2 separate regions of the Homo sapiens genome follow, and region 2 is linked to region 1. Evidence: promoter capture Hi-C in 16 types of primary human blood cells and fetal thymus (Javierre and others, 2016). All regions are on one chromosome and are shown on one strand. The core of a region is centred on a gene start or on the middle of the fragment in contact, and the rest is flanking DNA. Distances in the headings are between cores, read along the strand shown.

The links. Contacts are between HindIII fragments. The CHiCAGO score rates a contact against its expected background, and 5 or more counts as called.
Region 2: a contact is called between the fragment with the promoter of C1R here and the fragment with the promoter of MIR200CHG in region 1, in 16 of 17 cell types (naive CD8 T cells, erythroblasts, M2 macrophages and 13 more). The highest score is 16.5, in naive CD8 T cells.

Annotation. Positions count from the first base shown.
Region 1 is chr12:6,961,101-6,965,540 of GRCh38, forward strand. It overlaps MIR200CHG (MIR200C and MIR141 host gene), which reads left to right and starts at 2,145. Exons shown (of 2, transcript NR_135032.1): 1 at 2,145-2,248; 2 at 3,101-3,347. It overlaps MIR200C (microRNA 200c), which reads left to right and starts at 2,599; the gene lies at 2,599-2,666. MIR141 (microRNA 141) reads left to right here and starts at 2,997; the gene lies at 2,997-3,091. It overlaps LOC105369634 (a long non-coding RNA gene), which reads right to left and starts at 1,999. Exons shown (of 2, transcript XR_931601.2): 1 at 1,439-1,999; 2 at 532-1,021. It also overlaps PTPN6 and PHB2. RefSeq lists enhancers at 1-457, 458-1,257, 480-998, 807-1,016, 1,258-2,059 and 1 more. The HindIII fragment of the contact is 14,599 bases long and covers 1-4,440 here.
Region 2 is chr12:7,089,598-7,093,726 of GRCh38, forward strand. It overlaps C1R (complement C1r), which reads right to left and starts at 2,848. Exons shown (of 11, transcript NM_001733.7): 1 at 2,790-2,848; 2 at 1,855-2,083; 3 at 459-651; 4 at 1-136. The coding sequence starts at 2,791. RefSeq lists an enhancer at 2,896-3,190. The HindIII fragment of the contact is 12,054 bases long and covers 164-4,129 here.

The DNA of each region.
Region 1 (4,440 bases), core at 895-3,394:
CTCCCTCACTCCCTTCTCTTGGCAGCCTCAGCCCTGACCCTGTGGAAGCATTTCGCGATGGACAGACTCACAACCTGAACCTAGGAGTGCCCCATTCTTTTGTAATTTAAATGGCTGCATCCCCCCCACCTCTCCCTGACCCTGTATATAGCCCAGCCAGGCCCCAGGCAGGGCCAACCCTTCTCCTCTTGTAAATAAAGCCCTGGGATCACTGTGTGTCGCCTCTGAGCCCTTTGCTTGCCCAGTGAGTGGGCGGCCAGAGGGCAGGGCAGGATGGGTAACTGTGTGTGCCTCCGTGCGTGCCTCGCGTGAAAGCTCCGCCTTCCGTCAGACGGACGTGGGTCGGGACTCCGCCTCGCACGTGGGAGGGTGACCGTGGGTGAAGCTCCCCAGTCTCCTTCTTTAAAATGGAGGGCGATCATAACAGGGTGGTTGTGAAAAGCACCGAGATGACGGCTGACGATAAGACGGGCACAGTGACTCATCACACGCTTGCCATGTGCCCAGGCACTAAAAGACTACACACGTTAGTTCAGTCTAGGCACTTCTGTCATTCTCATTTTACCGTGGCGGAAACTGAGGGACAGAAAAACTAAGTAACTTGGTCACTTGCCCAAGGTCACAGGGCTATGGAACAGTGAGGCTGGGATTCGAACCCAGGCTGTCTGACCCCAGAGCCCACACTCCTTACCCTGGAGTTGCAGCTGGGGCCACCCTCAGGGGGGCCCTGATCACACTCCCCTGATGCTGAGTTCCAGATCTGAACTAAGAAGAGTAGTTAACAGCCGGAAGCGCAGACCTGAGGCCAGCCCGGCTGCGTCCCCTCTGGCGGGAACAGGGACAGGCTCCTCAGAGCACCCGGGCACGCCCAGCTCCTCCCCTCATCCAGGCCGCTGCTGCCCTTATCCTCTTGGGCAGAGTTTGAAGAGCTGGCTGACGTGAAGAGTGCTTTGTTTTTTGTCCCCTCTTCCTTCCCCCATGTCAGGAGTGGGGTTTCTTCTTTATTTGAAACACTGGTGTCCTGGGGAGTAAAGCCGGTGGGAGTCATCCCTCAGGAAGTGCTGGCGCCCACTCCTGGAAAGGCTGAGACAGCACAGGTCCCAAAGCCCAGAGGCTGGGCGTGCATTACTCAGCAAATCCTTACAGAGCCCCCGGCGTCACAGGCATTCACAGTCCCCCGACCTCCTGGAACTTAGGAGGCTGGTCAGGGAGACAGATTCACAAACCGATCACAAGCATCAAATAATTGCAGGCGGGTATTAAGAAGGAAGCAAACAAAGCCTGGGAGAGAGAACAGCGAGGGATTGAGCAACCCAATAGCTCCCTGGGGCTGTGGCCCTCCAGGGCACGGGTGGGGCAATCACCTGTCGGGCCCAGGTCCCCTCTCCCAGCAACGCCCTTTCTATACAAGCCGCAGCTGCACAAAGGCAAGTCCCACCTCCTCTAACCGCCCTTGGGCTACCTGCCCTTGGGGTGGGACTTGGACTCCACTGAGGGCTGTGCTGTGAGGTGGGTCCGGGAGCAGCTCGGTCCGGAGAGTGGAGCGCGATCGTTCCCTCTGCAGGCCTCAATCGAGGGGCAAGGCTGATGCTCCGGGCCAGCTGGGGTCTCTGGGTAGCGGTGGGTAACTTCACACTAGCGACACCTTGCTGGGACCCGCCTGCCCTTCACAGGCCTGGCGGGGCCTTCTCCCTCCCCTTTCCCTCAGGGGATCCCAGCACAGGCTGGGCACTGCGGGGCGGCACAGCCCAACTCCTGCCCAGCTGACCCCTCGCTGACCTCAGGGATCTCTCTGGCCTGCAGCTCCGCTGTGGGCAGGGTCTGAGGCCACAGAGGAATGGGCTAGTCCTGGGGGCAGCATCTGCTGTGGGGAGGGGACCCAAGGACAGCCCCCGCTTTTTGTACCTCTGGAGACAGGGGTGAGACTAGGCAGGTTGGAGAAAAGAGGCCCCTGGGAGAGGGTGGGAGGCCTAGAGGAGTGGCCAAGCCTTAGAGGAGGTGCCCGTGGCTGGCGCTGGGAGGGAAGGGGTTAAGGCAGTGGGGGGGCAGCCTATGGCAGGAGGACACACCTGTGCGCAGGGTGGCAGGCGGGGCCCAGGTAAGGAGCCTGCGCTGGCTGCCCGGCAGGCGGAGAAGGAAGGAGGAAGAGCGGAGGCCAGGGCGGGCTCTAGGCCGTGGAATCTGGGGCCTTAAAGCCCCTTCGTCTCCCCAGCACCCACTCTCTGGGGGCAGGTGGGCCCGGTGACAGGTAAAGGCCACCAGGGGAGAGGTCCTGGGCTGAGCTTGGGACTGCAGAGGGGGGATGAGGGTGGGTAAATCGGTGTGTGTCGCGGGTCGGGAAAGGCTGCCGGGGGTAGGGGAAGGTGGCTCAGAGGCGGCGGGCCGACGGTCGAGGGGCTTCGGAGGGCCTGCTTGGACTGCAACCTGGGCCTCGTGATCAGCGACCCAGGGTGTGGCTGGTGGCGGGCAGCAGGGCTCACCAGGAAGTGTCCCCAGGGACTCGGGTGGTGGGGGGATGGGAGCCAGGGATCTGCAGCTTTTCCGCAGGGATCCTGGGCCTGAAGCTGCCTGACCCAAGGTGGGCGGGCTGGGCGGGGGCCCTCGTCTTACCCAGCAGTGTTTGGGTGCGGTTGGGAGTCTCTAATACTGCCGGGTAATGATGGAGGCCCCTGTCCCTGTGTCAGCAACATCCATCGCCTCAGGTCCCCAGCCCTTAGCTGGCTGCAGCCCCCTCCCCACTTCCCACGCACCCCGGAAGCCCCTCGTCTTGAGCTGAGAGCGTTGCACAAGGGGTGGTTCTTGTTGGCTGGCTGCCACTAAGGGACACAATGGGCCCCAGCCCCTCCTCCCACCCAGTGCGATTTGTCACCTGGTGGATCCAGAACCCACAGTCGACCTTGAGCTTGGGGTTGGCTCGCCCCCTCTCAAGAGACCTCACCTGGCCTGTGGCCAGGGTCCCCTGTAGCAACTGGTGAGCGCGCACCGTAGTTCTCTGTCGGCCGGCCCTGGGTCCATCTTCCAGTACAGTGTTGGATGGTCTAATTGTGAAGCTCCTAACACTGTCTGGTAAAGATGGCTCCCGGGTGGGTTCTCTCGGCAGTAACCTTCAGGGAGCCCTGAAGACCATGGAGGACTACTGACCAACAACCTCTGACCTTCACCCCTCTGGATGGGGGACGAATCACTAGGCAAAGGGGAACAATGGGAAGGAGACAAAATGGCTGCCTTTACAGCTGCAGCAAGATGTGGAAACACTGGTTCCCTAGGCACCTCCATTGTCTTCCCGCCTTGGGAGCATGAAATAAATAAAGTGTGAAGGGGAACATGAGGAAGACTGATCCAAGTCACTTGACCTGTCTTTTGTCTAGTTGTTTATCTCATCTTAGCCTCCCAGCAACTCAGGATTGGGGCTGCGACGTCTGCTTTGTCTTTCATGATACTCAACCCCAAGCAGAGAAAAATATCTTAAAAATCGAAGCAGATTAACCCAGTCCCTCTGTTCAGATCCACCTGCTGCCCTATCTGCATTTGGCAGTTCCTGGACATACTTTGCACCTATGTTTTGTCTGAGTTCCACATCTTCCTTGTCTCCCCGCAGGGATGGGAAATGGGCAGTAGTGGGAGATTCAGGTATAAACGGTGGCTCTGTTTCTCTGGTGCCTGAGATTCGGGAAGGCCTGTCTTGGGAAGATAAGTGTCAGCTTATCTGTGGACTGAACAGACAGGCACCTGTTCTGTTGGCCCCGGAACTGCGGGCATGAAAAGCCCACCTCCCCAGGGGAGGCCTGTTAGCTAGCAGCTCCTCACGCCTGGTGACTGAGAAATGGAGTCTGGGGGGCCTACAGCAGGCCACGCGATCCACTGGGCTTCTGGGCACAGAAGTGCCTCAACAGGCACAGGCAGGCTCCCCACAGCCACAAGGAACCCTGCTGCCAAGGAAGCAGCTCCTGTTGGGGTCATCAGATTTTTAATCTGGCTCAGCAAAGCCATGGCTGTCCAGCCTTAAAAAAATGGGTGATGTGGGAGAAATGGAGGGTGTGTGAAGAGCACAGCTGGGCCTCGAGAACTCAGGGCCAGCCTTCCCAGCTTGGGTCCTGTTTCGGAGCCCAGGCCTTGCTTCCCCTTAGCCGCCCCAGCCAGATTCTTTTGCGCCCCCTGCTGGCACACACAAAGACAGACCCAGGAGCGCACATGTGAACGTGCGCATGCTTGCTGCCAGTTACCCAGTTCATGAACACGTGAAGCCTTGACTTCAGGTTAAGTAATAAAAATTTATTGAGAATTCCTGGGTTGGTGTTTATCTCCTCCCAGCCTTGAGGGAGGGAACAACACTGTAGGAAATCACTGAGAAATCACGCACTGTCCCCAACAGCCCCAGTTAACACAGGGAGGAGGAAAGTAATTCCCCAGAAAAGGGGCTAGTCTTCAGTCTTCCTTAAT
Region 2 (4,129 bases), core at 1,598-4,097, 130 kb after region 1:
TGCCTGTCTTCCTGAAGCTCATAGCCTGGACGGCAGGAACAGAAGTAGCCTCCAACGTAGTTGTGACACAGGTGCTGGCACTGGGGCTGGGGATCCTCCTCCCCTGATTTGCTCCGGGAAGCACATTCATCAAGGTCTGGAAGGCATTCAGGAAGGAGGGTTAAGCTTCTGCTGGGAGACCTGAGTAGTGGCTCTGATCTTAGGGAGGTCACTCACCAGAGACCTAAAGACAAAGGCATCTTTAGGCCACCTGGACCTCCAGGCCTCTCCAATGCTCTCTGGGGACTGCTCCATGGGGACAGAGCCCAGGTTGACAGGCCTCGTTAGGAAAAGCTCTCTCGAGGGGAGGAACAAGGAAAGCCAGGCTTTCGGCTTCTTTGCATTCAAGATTCCCTTTCTTGGCCCCCCATTCAATATGGCTGAGGTCAGAGAAAAGGGATCCCTGGGGGGCTACTCACCCACAGCTTGGTAGTAGGCCAGGAAGCCCTTGTAGAACATGATGGTCCCATTCTCCTCGTTGGAGAAGTCTGTGTGGAAGGTCAGCAGCATCTTGTTCCCTTGGGACATAAATTCCTTCTTTCCCGGGGGGTTGCCCAGTGGAGAACCCAGTTGCCCACAGAACCTCCCCAGGCTTTTCTTATCAGCAGAGATCTGGTGGAAGAAGGACAGGGGGTAGGAAGAAGATCTGTTGCGGAGTGGCGCACGTGGTGGCTCAGTGATGGTCCTCCTTGTCTCGCCCAGAGTGCATCATGCACCACAATGGCTCTGGCTGGTCACTACCTGCTGGGCTCAGCTGCTGCAAACTTCCCCATGTGACTTTCAGCTGTTCCCTGAGTCTCCCACTGACTCACTCTTTGCGTGTTGTCCTGGACTGGGTACCTCACCCTTTCCCTGTTTTCTGCTCCTCTGGCAGGTTTCAGGTCCTTCTCCATCCCCACCACCTCCTATGGCCTGTTCCCCTGGGGTCCTGGTTGTCTGTACCCAGCCTTTACCTGCCCCTCATTCCCAGAGCTCAGACAGCTCCGCTTTATTTTCTGTCTTCAGATTCCACCTCAGCCTAATCAAACCATTCACACCTCGAGTGCCTCCTGATGCCCTCGGCGGAACATGAGCCCTGAAGCCCACCCATCTCAGTGTCAGCAGGCACTGCCTCGTCCCTCTTCCTTCCTCCTCACAGCCTCCTCAACCTCTCCTTGACTCTGCCAGCAAACGCCCTCCCCCAACACTGCACACTCGCCAAGTCTTCTGAGCCGGTAAGACGTGCCATTGTCATGTAATTCACGCATAATCTCCAGGGGTCTCCTGGGAATGGTAGTTGTTGGACCTTCGCAGGCTCTGCTTGAGCCCTGAATCTCATTTTTACTGGATAGAGAAAGACAGGCCTGGGAAGGTACCCTTGGTTGCCACAGAGGTGAGGGTTCTGAGCACACTGTCCTTGCTGAAGGCTATTCCTGTGCTGCCAGAGCCCACATTTCTCCTCCTCATGTCCCTGTGTTCCTGTTGAAGCAGGCAGCCATGTCAATCATTTCCTTGGAGACAGGGAAGCTGAGGCACAGTGGTTTCCCAAAGACTCTCAGCTAGACAGCAGATGGGGAAGGTTTTCCTGACTCAGTGGATGTTGAATTTCCTGAGTGGGTCCTGTCCCCTTCCTTCTCTGTGCTTCTCCCCTCAGTGCTCACCGAGGGCCTCTACACCAGTGAGCGCCCATCCAGGGCATCCCCGGGCTCTCAGAGAGGCCGTTGGCCATCAGCTCTTGTGGGGCTGGGCTGTGTCTGGGGGTGTGCATGCCATACAGATCCCAGATCCCAGAGGGCCCAGTTTTGTCTCCCCTCTGCCCGCCCATCCTGCCCCTACCTTGACATAATCATAGAAGCAGCCTTCAGAAGGCTCCAGGTCAAACTGCTGGAAGACGAGCTTCACCCTGTATCCCGTGGGGACTGTGATCACAGTGGTTGTTTCAAAGTTGTTGGGGTAAGGCTTGGGGAACAGAGGGGAAGTCACCTCCCCAAATAACTTCTGAGGGATGGGAATGGAGCCTCCTGCCCTGCAGAACAGGGCCGGCACCAGGAGGTACAAGAGCCACCTGCCAAAACAAAAGAGAGTATCTGGAGCTGGAGGGGTTCAGCACTCTTGCCATGTGGGCAGTGGCTGTGGCAGGGGATGAGACGGCCATACCACTGGGCATTCTCCTCTCTGCCCACCCTGAACCTCACAGACATGTTCTCAGCAGGGGTGCGTGGGTGGGGAGGATGGCCTGTGCAGCTGCTGCATCGGGTCACTCTCCAGGGCAGTGTCCAGTCCAGAGGCCACCACACTCCCCTCACACTCCCTTTCCAGCCTCCTCCCCTGCCCGGACGCGTCCCTCCCCTCCCCTTCCAGGAATAGGACTGGCTTGGGACCAGTTAATGGAGGGTGAGGGTTTCCACCCGTGGGTCTCTGAAAGGGCTCCCACAGGTTCAGCAAGAGCGTCTGGGAGAAACCATCTGTGGAGTGGGGGACACAGGCACAGAGTGTCCCGTCCTGGGCAAGGGGTCCCCTCCTCTCGCTGCTCCCTGCCAAGAGCCCAGAGGGAAGAAAGGACCATGGCATGAGCATCTATGTATGAAGTCTCCTCTGATCCCTAGGAGGAGGGATGGGGCGTGTGTTGTGTGTGTCCACGCGTGTGCACAGTGGAACTGATGAGGTGTGTGAAGAGAGAAGGGTGTTCCTGTCTCCCTGAATTGCCTCCCATGCCCTGGCTTCTCCCCTGGCTTCTCCCTCCCACCTGGTTGCCCATCACCCTTACTCACATTTCTCAAGGCCCGTGTTGAATCCTGGGCTCTCCCGACAGCGTCTTCGTGCACTGTGTGCAGAGGGAGCCCGCGTCATGCACAGCAGGGAGGGGAGGGTTTTCTGTGGAGTGGAGGGGGGACCATTCCCGGAGGAATGTTGGAGGGAATGAACTATTTGCATAAACAAAAGATCTGAGTTTCCACTTTAATTTAGTTTTGGTTTTGAAATCCCTGTTTGTGGTGCCACCTGCTGGTCGGTGAGGGAAAGGGCTAAGGAGACGGGAGTCTGGCTTTTTAGGGCCCGGGGAGCCTTGGGTTGGAGGCCCAGATGTCTCAGTCTCTAAATCTGATCAGCTTCTCCCTTCTTCCAAGACTTTCCTGGGGGCTGCTGCTGTGTTTACAAGGTTCCTACCAAAGCAGTGGGAGACCACAGGTGGTGGTGAATTCTCTTTTCTGGGCTGTCCTTTCCCATTGACCCTGTTCTTCCTGCCCTCATTCAGCCCACAGCCCTGGTCCAAGAATGGCCCGGGTTTCAATGCCCAGGACGTAATGATAGGAACACTGGGGCAGAGGAGGGTGTGTGGGAGCGGGCAGAGGAGAGAGGAGCTTGGTTGCCTTGGGGCCCTGGCCTGCTTTAGCCATGAATGACACTTGGACATAGAATAGGGTTGGCCATGTCAGGGCAACCCTAAATCAGCCCTGGGTTTGAGACCCTCTGGGGCGGCTGCGGAGGGGGTAAAATGTCCCCATCTCCTTAGCATCTGCTCAACACAACTGCCAGGGCTGAAGCTAAGGATGCGGGTGTGGAGCAAGAGGGACTCGGTTTTTCTGAGATGAAGCCAGGCCCCTGGGAGGGAGGAGGGACCCTAGTCTCTCCTGTCCATCAGGCCATAGTGTCCTGCTTTAAAACTTTTGCTCTTGGCCACGTGTGGTGGCTCATGCCTGTGATGCCAGCACTTTTCGAGGCCAGGGTGGGAAGATCTCTTGAGCCCAGGAGTTCGAAACCAGCCTGGGCAACATAGTGAGATCTCGTCTCTAAAAGTTAAAATAAATTAAAAAACAATTTCATTGTTTTTGGAAGGCTTTCTTCATCAACTCTCCATGGCACCAAATATCTGATGGCACTTCATCCCACGGAGGGGCTTGGGCTGCAGAGCAGGACTCTGCGTTCTTAAGCCTTTGTAGGCTGTTCTGCTTGTTTCCCTTATTAGATGAATCCCTCCAACCTCCACCCTTCTGCCCCCACCCCCGTTCATCCATTTATGGGCTACCTGTTTAATGTGCAAGACACTTTCCCAGGCAATAGATTGCAAGAATTCACAGAGCTGATGCAGTTCCCCATCAGGCAGTGACCACAT